Linked DNA regions of Homo sapiens: regions 2 and 3 are each linked to region 1. The links are contacts of gene promoters, found by promoter capture Hi-C in blood cells and fetal thymus (Javierre and others, 2016). All regions are on one chromosome and are shown on one strand. Each heading gives the region's core, a stretch centred on a gene start or on the middle of the fragment in contact. The rest is flanking DNA. Distances are from core to core; before and after follow the strand shown.

Region 1 (4,512 bases), core at 1-2,500:
CCAGTCTGGGTAACAGAATTAGGCCAATTTATTTAATTCCATTTGTTCATGTATCCAGCCAACAGATATTTATGGTGCACTTGTTGGGTGCCAGCCCCGCCCCCACCACTCCACCCTACCCCAGCAGGCGCTAAAGGAGAGCTGACATGATGGATAACGAAAAAGAAGACGCTGTCCTTCTATTCAGGGAGTTTAACATCTGGAAGAGCCGGGAGTTCTTTGTGCTAAAGGCCCTCTACAAAGTGCCTGAGATGCAAAAATAAGTCACTTTCTCTGTCCTCTCAGCAACCGAGTCGCATGTCGTTATCAAATTTTTATTTTCTGTAACTGTTTCCTTCCGTCTTGCTCCGTAGACAGCTTTTTGCAGCAGAGAGCGCTGCCGCGGGGCTGGTGTCTACTCTTCAGTAAGTGGTCAAAACCTGGCTACTGGAAGGAAATGCAATGGAATCGCTCCGCGCTCGAGTATTCTCTTTGGAACTACGGGAATGACAGCTCCAGTGGGACACTTGGAGGTCATGATGAACGCAAAGAACGTGAGAACACTTGCAGTCCTCGGGGTGGAAATGCCTTCTAGAAATACTAAGTATCCGTTCTCTCGTTGAGACTTTGGCAAACCAGGGATTTTAGGAAGGGTCTGGCACTCAACGTTCCTAAAATTGGTTTCCTAGATGGAGCCGGAGGGAGAGAGGGAGTCAGGAACTGCTGCTTTTCGTCGGAATGCCCGGAGGGGAGAAGAAGAAGGAGGAGGGGTGAGGGCGGGCGGCCAAACGCCAGCCGGCAGGGGACCCAGAGAAGAGGGACATCCCGGGCGACCCCGAGGAGCGCGGCTTGGGCACCGCAGTGGCCGCGGCTAGTGGGAGACCTGAGGGGAAAGGGAGAGGGCAGGGGCGAGGAACCCAGGGAGCGCGCGCGGATTGGTCCTCTCCTCGGGGCGTGCGCTCCTGTGCGCCAAATGATTGGTGGCAGGAAAGTAGCAGGTAAACCGGCTCCCGCCGCCTCGCCATTGGTCAGCGGCCTCTCTAGCCGCCACACAACTGGCCAGCGGGCTGCCGAGCCGCGCGCGGATTGGCTGGGGGCGGCCGCCGGGACCGGCTCCCTTCGGGCGTTCGGATTGGCTGGCGGGAAGAGGCAGGTATCCGGGCGCTGCGGCTCCTCCATTGGTGGGCGGGGAAGGGGGGTTGGGCACAGCGATTGGTGGGCGGGGGGCCGGGCCTGGGCCGGCGGGGAGCGGATTGGTCGGAAAGTAGGTTAGTGGTGCGACATTTAGGGAAGGCAGAAAGTAGGTCAGGGACGGAGGTGCCTGTTTACCCGCGCCGGACTCACCGCCGCCGCCGCCGCGGGATCCGAGTGCGGGCGCGGGCGCGGGCGCTCCCGGCGAGCCACGGTGAGTGTCAGGCCGGCGGCGGCCAGCGACGCGATCCCGCGCACCCCGTCGGGGGCCGTTAGCACCCTCGCGGGCGCTGCGCCCCTGCCGCCGCCCCGGGGGCAACCCGGCCGCCGAAGAACCCTGCCCGACGTGCCCGCTGCCGGCCTTAAAGGGCCCGTGACCGCTCCCTGCCCCCACCCGGGCCGTGGGGAGGCTGCGCCCCTTAAAGGCGCCGCGCCCGTCCGCCCCCATCCTCCTCGCGGGGGCTGCCGCTGCGGGCTAGGGCAGGCAGAGGTGCTGCAGGAGCCCTTAAAGGGGCCGGGAAAGTGTTCGCTGGAGTACCCACCGCCCTTCCGCGGGCATCGCTACCTGGCGGGGGGAGGGGGCAGCTAGCTGCCTCTTAAAGGGATAGCTCTGCCCTTGGGGGCAGTGACTCGGCCGAAGAGGACTCCTAGATGTGTCCCCGGGAGCTTCGGGGATCCCCGAGGGGACCATGCCTGGTGGCTGCCCCTCAAGGGCGTTGGGCGAACGGTGCCGCGTCTGCCCTTCCTCCCCGCTTCACTTCCCTTTCGGGAGCCCGCGAGGCTGGGTGGGGGCGGGGAGGGCGTCTCCGTCGGGCTTGGGGAGTCCAAGTCCGCCCGCCCCTTCGGCCCTGTAGCCAGGGCTGGCGCTGCACCCGGGAATCCCCGGCCGGCACGGGGCCGACCCCAGCCTGCGAACTTTCGTGGGGCCTGTGCCGTCCAGGTCCTGGGCGGCCCTCAAGGATGCCCCGTGGGTCTGCGGGCAGGTGCGCGTCGGCCTGGGGATGTCGCCCGGAGCCCGGGTGCGGGCCGGCCTTGGAGTCCCAGAGCTCCGCGGAGGGCGCAGCGAGCCTGGCTCCAGCTCCGGGTTTGACAGATGTCAGGGAAGAAAAGGTTCCCGCTCGGCTATTGCCGGGCGTTGACATCCCAGAGAGCTTCCCGTTTGCTTGGAAGAAGACGAGGAAGGTAGAGGTGAACGTCGACCTTGTGGGGCGCATGTTAGCCTCCCCGAGGGGTCGCGAGAGCCGGCAGCGGGGTGAGCTCAGGTGCCCGCCGGCAGGAGCTGGGGAGGGAAGGGGAGTGCTGGACACCGGCGCCTGCTGTCAAGTTCTCGCCGGCCGGTGAGAGACCCGCTGCCGCCGCGCACCCCGCACCTCCTGACCCCTCTCCCCTCTCCGCCTCGGCCCCTTCCCGGTCACCTAGCGTTGTTTTGGCGCTTTGGCGCTTGCGGTCTCTTCCTTCTTCCACCGCTACTCCTCAGCGAGGAATTATTAGCCAAGTTTTCTCACCCAGCTTCCAAAAATCAGATTCCGTATTTGTGAACAAGCTTTTCTTGACACTACCCGTATACCCGTATTTCCAGCATCGTCGTTTTATTAAACATCCATAAAAGCTGCCCCTTAGATGCATTCATTTCCCACGACACCTGCTTGCTTGTCATTTGTCCTTCTGACATCTGCTGTTGTTCACCCCTTTAATCTATTATTAAATGACAACTATTATTTTAATTCTTCTGGTCTCATTGATATCCGGATCTGTGAATTTGGGTTGGTGGAGTTTTTAATTAATGTACCCGTTGAATCATGAGCTTAAAATAATCATTGCTGCTCCTGAGCAGTTTTGAATAATATCATGCTCTCTCTGCTTGCAAGACTTAAAAAAATTCGCTGGTGTTATATTTGATTTCCATATCAATGGAATTCCCAAATATTTTTGAAAATACAAAATTCAGTCTTTCAGTCCATGTTTTGTTACTCAGATCATTTTACTGATAAGTCTTTAACGCAGCTTATAGAACATATTTAGAAGGTTTGGAAATTTCCTGGACAGGATTTGAAATTGCCTGTATCATCTGAAGCTGGTTCTGTAGAAGCATTTTGGTTTTGATTGTAGATGCAGCCAGTGAATGATAACAATAAGTTAAAACTGTAGTTAAATTTGTTCTTTATTCAACCCTCTGAAGAACGAACAGATCTGGTAGAAAAGCACTAACCTGGGAGTTAGGAGCTGGACATCCTGGTTCTAGTTTAGGCTTGGGCTCTCATGGCCGTTCCAGTCGGGGCAAGTTATTAAAGATTTCTAGGTTGTGTTTGCCTCTGATGGAAAGTAAGACGGTTGAACTAGGTGATCTCAAAGGTTCCTCTCTTTTGAAGTTCTGTAAGTCTCTAAATATTTAATACATTTGAATTCAGGTTGGTATTTACCTCCTGGCACCTCCAGAATATCTGAGCTGAAGCCCTATTTTCATAAGAAAGTTAAGCAGATCAACAGATGGTGTTTTGAAGAATCCATTTCAAATGATTTATAAAATGATGACTACTTACGAGTTTGTCTGCTATTTGCAGAAGAGGTTTGCATGCCACAGGGCAGGAAAAGGAAGTGGCCATGTTTTCAGATTTATCCCTTCACACCAACAATCTCTGTGGAATTTATATGCTAAAAGATGGAGAAGCACCATAGAAAGATTTGGCTGTATTAACAAAACTGCATATGAAAAGGTAAAAACTAGATAGTTAATATCTCTCTTTGGTGTAAGGGTTATAATGTATCTGAGCTTTCTTTGTGATTTCATCATCAACTCTCACTGTGGTAGGAAAATCAATATTAAATAAACAGTTTCAGCCCCGTGATTACATGCAGTGATTTTAGGAAGCATCATGATAACTAAAGTAGGTACTTGCAGGGAAGTAAAATATCCTTTCTAGACCTTGAGGTTTCGTTGGGAGCTAGGGACACAGGCATGTTATCCTTCTCCACAGTCTTTTTTCATTGTCACCTTATCACAAGACTCAGATTTATCCCAAATACCCACCTTGTCTTTTCTTCTCCCTCTCATGAAATAAGACCTGCTCTGACTCAACCCCCTCAGCATCTCTTACTTCCCACCCAAAATGTCCTGTCTCTATCCCCATCGTCCCCTCATCTCCTCCCAATTCAGAGAAAGCAAGTGGACCTCTCCTCTGTTCCTTTTCTTGGCCTCTCACCATGGGCAAGTGCCTGGGCTCTGGTGGCAGAAGAATCCATGGCTCAGGTTTGGGCTTTGTGGTCTTGGATGTGTGCTTGACTCCTCTGACCTCAGGTTTCTCCTCTTGGTGTAATGGCAGTGCCTGCCTCGTGGAGTCTGTG
Region 2 (4,279 bases), core at 1,602-4,101, 2.4 Mb before region 1:
CGTAATATGAAAACCCCGTTTCACACAGGTGCATTGTAGCAAAAGGAAGAAGTACACGCACTGCACGCCTTGCAATGCTTGGGTATTCCTGAATTAGGCTACTCCAAAAATCATTTAGTGAAAGTTCACTAAAATTTTGCTTCACTTGAGAATCAGATGTTAAATCAATCAGGCTCTCATAGTCCCGTGCTACTAATGAAGCTGGTTTAACAGTAACTGTAAATGGATTTCTAACCCAAGCATTATTGTCATTTGTTACAGGAAAGTATTTTAACAGAGTAGCGCGCAAACCCCTTAGGTGCTGCACAATGGCACTGCAAATATCTTTATCAACTGTAGAATTAATTTCAGTCAAAAAATCACTGAGTGTAGGAAAACAATCAAAGTTTTCTTCTTCTACAGATGAGGCCCAAAATTCCAATTTTCTTAACAATGACGACATTTTATCAAATACTGTAAAAACGGTCACATTTTTTCCTTGCATTGACAAATTAACTTCATTTAATTTAGTAAAAATATCTGCAAGATATGCAAGTCTTAGCAGCCAAGATGAATTTGTTAAACAATCAGATAGTCGAAAAGCAGAATCCATGAAAACCAAAAGTTCACGACGAAGTTCAAAAAGTCTTACAAGAACTTTACCTCGAGAAAGCCACCTCACCTCTGTATTTAGAAGAAGTGCTGTGTGCTGAGCACCCATTTCCTCACATAAAATTTTTAATAGTCTGGATTGATGTGGTCGAGCTTTAATATAATTGATGATTTGTACTGCCTGGTCTAGCACATTTTTTAGAGATGTAGGCATTATTTTAACTGCCAGTGCATGTCTGTATAATAGGCAGTGACTACTGGTGCTTTCGGGAGCCACATATTTTATTAAGGTGACAGCTTCGGCAATTTTCCCATCCACTGCCCTAGAAGCATCACTACAAACATCAACACATTTTTCCCATTCAATTTCATGTTTCTGCATAAAACTGTTGATACAGTTGAATATTTCTTCACCGGTAGCATTACTTTGCAAAGATTCACACAGGAGTAGGTCTTCCTCAATAGACTTATTAAACCTATAACGAACAAACACAAGCAGCACAGCAAGTCCTGAAACATCAGCTGATTCATCTAGTTGCAGTGAAAACCCATCGCAAATTTTCAGTCTACAAACAAGCTCTTCTTCAATGTCAGCAGCTAGATCCTTAATTCGACGTGCAACAGTACTGTTTGATAGCTGTACTGCATCTATTTTTTTACTATATTGTTCATCAAACATCCGCATCACTACATCTTTTGCACAAGGTTTGATAAGCAATTCTCCAATAGTATGAGCCTCTCCACTCAGCGCTATATGGTAACTTACATTGTATGATGCTTCTGTAGCACTTTCATTATCTGTATTCACAATTTTAGGTGTTGGGGGTTTATTATTTTCAGGTGAATCGAGATGTTGCTTGAAAAAGCTTATGTCTTTGTCTTTATATGCAGCATGTTTAGTTTCCAAATGTCTTCGAAGCTTACTAGGGGCTAAAGAGCTATTTGATAAAATTTTCTTACATAATACACACTGAGCATGAGGTGCATCTCTATTTCCGAAGTAAGTAAATCCAAAAGACAAATAACTTTCATCATATTTTCTTCTTTTTGGTTTTTTACTAAATGTTATTTTGTTGGAATTGGATATAAATTTGACCCTGGAAAGCTCACCTTCTGATTTTTTAGAAACTGAAGGTTGCAACTGCTTATCTTCACTTTGTAATATTCCAACCTTCTGATCATTTGATTCAGACACAATCTGATAACAGAAAGATTCCACTTCTTGTTTAAGACTTCCTTGTTTCAGCAACAGATCCATGGGCAATGAGTTTGTGGTACAAAACATGGTTAATTTAGAATAGACATTGAGTATCGCAAATGTGTTGAAATTATAAGACAGGATACAAAGAAGAGGAGCAATCATCAAAGAGATGATATACAGCAACACATCAGTTAATTTGTAAATGCTGCCTATTCATCAATGCGCAGATGGAACATCATACGTTCATGTATCAGGTGATCTCTCATGCGACTTCCTGGTGCTCTCAGGTATGGTACACCTTTTCTTAAAGGTAGATTATCACATAAAAATAAAAGCTATAGAAATGAGTTTAGCAGTCTTAATCTCATATTTAAATAAACATATTAAAATCAACCATAAAGAAAAACCAATATTAGCATCAATCATTTTCTCAAAACATTTATTAACTTAGAGAATATTAATATTCTATAAAACATAATTTGGGAATCACTGAGCCAATAAATTATTAAGAGTTGTTATACATATTTTTAAGAAAGGGACCCTGAAGAATATGTCCCATGGCAGGGGTTGGCAGGCTTTTTTTGGTCAAGGGCCATATAGTCTCTGTTGCAACTACTCAACTCTGTAGTTGTAACATGACAGCAGCCATAGACAATACATGAAAGAATGGACACAGGTGTGTTCCAATAAAACTTTACGTACAAAACCAGACAGCATGGGCCATAATTTATCAGCCCTGTCTCATGGTATGTAGTATTGTGAAATCTCTTTTAGCTTTTGATGCCTACTGTCATTAGATGTATTAGTTGTTGATACTATTATATATCTGAAGTCCCTTCAGGGCTAGCAACAATTCTGAAGAAGTGAATTAAACACACACACAGTTCCAAGTTTTGCGAGATACATAATTCTACTGTATCCTAAATGTTATGCGTTAACAATGAAGAATAAATTGTATATCAAAAGTTAGGTACTGTTTCTCTGGACTTAAATTATATAAACGTTTATATTATCCAAATTAAGACTCAATGAAAGTAATGTATATTTTTACAGATAACTCTGCATTCTATTTATACAACAGGTGACGACTTAACCAGGACCTAAAAAAAAAAAATAAACTCTCATTTAAGAGGTTTATTTCTCATATAATAAAACAAATCAAAATTAAAAGGATAATGCAATCTAAGGATTGCTAAAGAATACTATTAACTCTATAAATCAAGGCATACAAATTATGTCTGTCCAAATATAGCTACTTTTGATTTAAACTTTATAACCTGGCTATAGAGTAAGTTTTGTATTCTCATGTTAGATCTTGAGTCAAAATGGTTCTCCTATTAAGGGGTAGAGGATAAGATACCTGAAATAAGGTGTTCTCCTTTCTGTAATCCCTCTCTCCACCTTGGCAGCTTGAAATGCACTCTTCAAAAGAATAAAATTAAGGGATGGGGTGGGAAGGGGAGTAACCAAAAGCCTAGAATGAGAAAAATTAAAATTAGATACAGTAACAAGCAGAACTAACTATAAACCCGTAAGATGGGTTTATTCTTTCTGGATCTAAGCAGTGAAAATGATTCTTTACTGCAATGCAGATCTTGGACTGAAAGAGAAGACGCCTAGCATAGTAAAAATTCTAACATTTTCATCCTGTTCAATATCTTGGCAATTTAGATGCTTTGAGATGTTCCCCCACCTACTGACTTCATAGAAACATGTTAAAACAACACCACCACCACACTTTCTAGAACTTGAAACTAAGCCTAATTTTTAAAAGTACAACCTCATCAATGTCTCTAAAACTAGGTCTTGAATCTAAAATGGAATTATACATAGAACTATTACATGAAGCAGTTCTTTCACTACAATCATTTTTAGCCCCCCAGTGACCAATCTCCTCAGGTAAACAATGTCTAATGACTGATGATTGTTTACTGTATGCCAATTACTGCTAAATCCCTCATATAGATTATCTCATCTATGAAGACACAAGGATTATTAATAACCCCACTTTAGAGATAAACAGACACAGGTTAACACATCTCGCTAACACCTCTTGTAAGTGAAAAACCAAGTTCAGAGCCCAAAAAGTTTGACTGCATAGCCCATGTGTCTAGCCATTACTTGGGTGTTCCTGAATACTTTTAATTCCCCAACTACTAAAAAATCTCGTTACTAGGAGTTGGGTTATGCAGCGAAACGGATGAACAATGGATTATAACTGCCAGAAAGTCGAGGGTCTCATACTAGCAACAGCATAAAGCCCTGCTTCTTATTGGGAGCAAAAAAGCAGATTCTCCTTCCACAGTCTCCTTTTGGATTTTGCAACGGAGAACTCTGTGGAGCTGCTGGTTCACGTAAAAGATCAGGATCCCTCTCGTTGCCAGAGGACACAGAAGAGTAGGAAGCTTTTGTTTTCAGAAAGAAGGTCCTCAACCCCACCTCTTCGAAGGTGTTTCCCCGAATTTCTCGAGGACAAAGAATCTGGAC
Region 3 (2,940 bases), core at 21-2,520, 2.5 Mb before region 1:
CCAGTATTACCTGCAGCAGGAAACGAATCCTTGCTGGCAATTCCTTACTTAACATCAAGGAGCACATTCGGGCAAAGTACTGATCCATTAAGGACTGATAAGAGAAGAATACATTCATTGGAAGAGCTAAAGCAAATGTGTTCAATTTACAGCTTTAAGACTTCTAAAATTATAACCCAGTTAATGGCTAAATATGGCAATCCCTTATGATGTCACAAAAATCAATAGCTTGATTTAAAGACAAACTACTTGTACTACTTTCATCAGCTACACACGTACCTTGGCTCGTTCATGGTCTAATCTAGGTCCCACTGTCCTCATTATCTGACAGAGGCACTCCAAATCCTCTCCCATATCTTTGAGTTGGACTCTCTTCTTCTTTTCCAAAAGCTACAAGAATAAAAGGCCATGGTGACAAAGTTTTAGTTACTCTGGTTTAGGCGTAGTACTTTCTTTCCCTTTATGTTTGCACTGACTCATTCACAGTTCCTACAGAATCTAGTATAGGGCTTTCTACCAGTCTGGTTGATCAGTTCTAACTCTACTTTGTCAAACACACCACGTATTTCAAATTATTCTGTTTAGTAAATTTTGTTGCACATCTGTATTTAACTAGTCAACCTCCCTCTTAGATGAATAATTGACTCATTTCCTCCAAACGACTGACTACATTCGCCTAACTTCCCTGTCACACTTACTGTTTTGATGCACTTATGAAGGATAGATTCGTGAATAAGATCAAGCTTGCCAAGCTCTCCAATGAATTTGATGTTTCCCAACATCTTGATCTTAGCAATGGCTCTCTGTTCCTCCTCCTCGGGGAGGAGGGGATTTTCACGCTTATCATAGACTGAAAAAGATACCAATGAAGTAAGCCAACATTCAGAATTAAGCTGAAAATATACAGTAGTACTTATTATCAGCTATAAGTCTTACCATCAACATTTCTAGTTCGGTTTTCAAATTCATCTTGTAATTTGGAAATTAGGAGGCGTCTGAATGTCTGGAAAAGAAGACATTGTCATGCTTTATTAAGGAAATTTTTCAAGTCAACTTTAAAACAAGCAAACAAAAACTACCACTTACGGTGCTTTGCTTCTGTCCTGGTTGACCCTCTGCTGCTGGGCCATCAAAGTTTGGTGCATCTTCTGCCAATCGCAGACATAGCTGAGCATACAGTGAGCTATACTTTGGCTCTTCTAGGGCTTTGTCCACAATCTACAGAAAATGTCATTGCTTAAACTAAATATGAAAACTTCTCCAAGAACCCTTCCTTTAGGAAAAATACAACCACCTAAATGTTAGCTATTACAGTCTACCAAAAATGTCCAGTTATACAGATTTCATCTAGTCACATCCATCTCCTGGGAGTCAGAAAATGCCATGGATATCAAAACTTTCAAGTCTACATAAACTGTCATACAATGCATTTCCAAGACCTAAATACGGTGTTTTCCACAAAAGAAAAAGAACAGCTTGCTAAGCACTCCCATTTACCTCTTCAACCATACCATGAACTTAACATTTACCTCTTCAATCTAATGCTACTAAAGTCAGTGGTTCTTTTTAATCACCATCAGTATTCAAAAATACATACCTATCTAACTCACACCTAAGGGTTTTAAGTAGTAATCCAAGTGTAAAAAAACACAACTTGAGTTTGTTAAACAGTTCCCTCTCCCTTTTGAGTTAAGCCAATATTTAAAACTTACCAGCAGTATGACCCCTTTAAGGATGAGTTTAGACTCTACACCCACATTGAGGAGCTCAAGGCATAGCTTGTCAAACTTTTCAGGAGTAAGCTTATTTAGTATGCTGGAGAAAAAGGAATTACATTTTAAGTGTTAGCTAATACACAGAATTTGAATTGAAAAACTGCTTTTAAATTATACTGATTTTTCTTCTAACTTGCTCCCTTTAAAAAATCAAGACATGTTTTCTTACTCATCTAAAACCAAAGGGATGCTGAAATAAACCTGTTATTTTAATTACAATGATTTGAATTGGACTGGGGGGTCCCCAGCTGTTTGACAAGAATCCTTTCTCACTTTCTCAAGGTTAGAGCGCAAAGATCTCATTATCAAGGCTAGACCATGAACTAAGACCATTATATTCCCTGCCTCACTGGCTTAAATAACATAGCACTTCCCTTAGTCAAGGGAAATGCTAGCATGACAGGATTATGGATTGCAATCCAATGGCTGAAAGCAACGGGAAGCCCCAAAATATGACGTGCTGTTCTTCAGTTCAAGATACATTTTTTTTTTTTGAGACACAGTCTTGCTCTGCACCCAGGCTGGAGTGCAGTGGCGTGATCTCGGCTCACTGCAACCTCCACCTGTGGGGTATTCAAGTGATTCTCCTGCCTCAGCCTCTCTAGTAGCTGGGACTACAGGCGCCTGCCACTACGTCCGGCTAATTTTTGTATTTTTAGTAGAGATGGGGTTTCAACATGTTGGCCAGGCTGGTCTCAAACTCCTGACCTCAAGTGATCTGCCCACCTCGGCCTCCCAAAGTGCTGGGATTACAGGCGTGAGCCACAGTGCCTGGCCAGTTCAAGATATTTTTAAAAATTGCTACCATGAGGATTCATTAAAACATACATACTCTGGGCATGAACCTTGCCTTCTTAGTAATACAGCACACACACCAAACACAGCTAATCCACACTTCCCATCTTTTAGTAAAACAGACCTTGAAACTTACCCTCTTACTTTCCTGAAGATTGCATCATGTCGTTCTTTTTCGTTTGCGGAGTTGTTTGCTGCGGAGTTGTCATCTCGTCTAGTGCTTCGTGCAGGAATCCATTTCTGAGCGTTTTGCCCTGGGGTTTTCCCCAGGAACTCGCTGATTAATAAAAATCAGCAAAAACACTTATTGTCACACACCAAATGTTAAACATCATAAATTCTCTTACATAGAAAAAAGTAATTTAGGCTT

What was found. Contacts are between HindIII fragments. The CHiCAGO score rates a contact against its expected background, and 5 or more counts as called.
Region 2: a contact is called between a fragment that was not itself captured here and the fragment with the promoter of BMAL1 in region 1, in 1 of 17 cell types (fetal thymus). The highest score is 7.2, in fetal thymus.
Region 3: a fragment that was not itself captured here is called in contact with the fragment with the promoter of BMAL1 in region 1 in 1 of 17 cell types (total CD8 T cells); the score reaches 5.4 in total CD8 T cells.

What each region holds. Positions count from the first base shown.
Region 1 is chr11:13,276,540-13,281,051 of GRCh38, forward strand. It overlaps BMAL1 (basic helix-loop-helix ARNT like 1), which reads left to right and starts at 1,251. Exons shown (of 20, transcript NM_001297719.2): 1 at 1,251-1,384. RefSeq lists silencers at 852-1,501, 1,572-1,641, 1,922-2,261. The HindIII fragment of the contact is 3,232 bases long and covers 1-2,711 here.
Region 2 is chr11:10,852,992-10,857,270 of GRCh38, forward strand. It overlaps ZBED5 (zinc finger BED-type containing 5), which reads right to left. Exons shown (of 3, transcript NM_001143667.2): 2 at 3,153-3,266; 3 at 1-2,095. The coding sequence starts at 1,954. Among named protein-coding and RNA genes, the nearest start is that of ZBED5, 2.9 kb to the right of the region's middle. The HindIII fragment of the contact is 2,687 bases long and covers 1,509-4,195 here.
Region 3 is chr11:10,803,201-10,806,140 of GRCh38, forward strand. It overlaps EIF4G2 (eukaryotic translation initiation factor 4 gamma 2), which reads right to left. Exons shown (of 22, transcript NM_001418.4): 4 at 2,707-2,847; 5 at 1,713-1,815; 6 at 1,087-1,218; 7 at 937-1,003; 8 at 699-850; 9 at 280-390; 10 at 11-94. Among named protein-coding and RNA genes, the nearest start is that of SNORD97, 3.1 kb to the left of the region's middle. The HindIII fragment of the contact is 1,059 bases long and covers 742-1,800 here.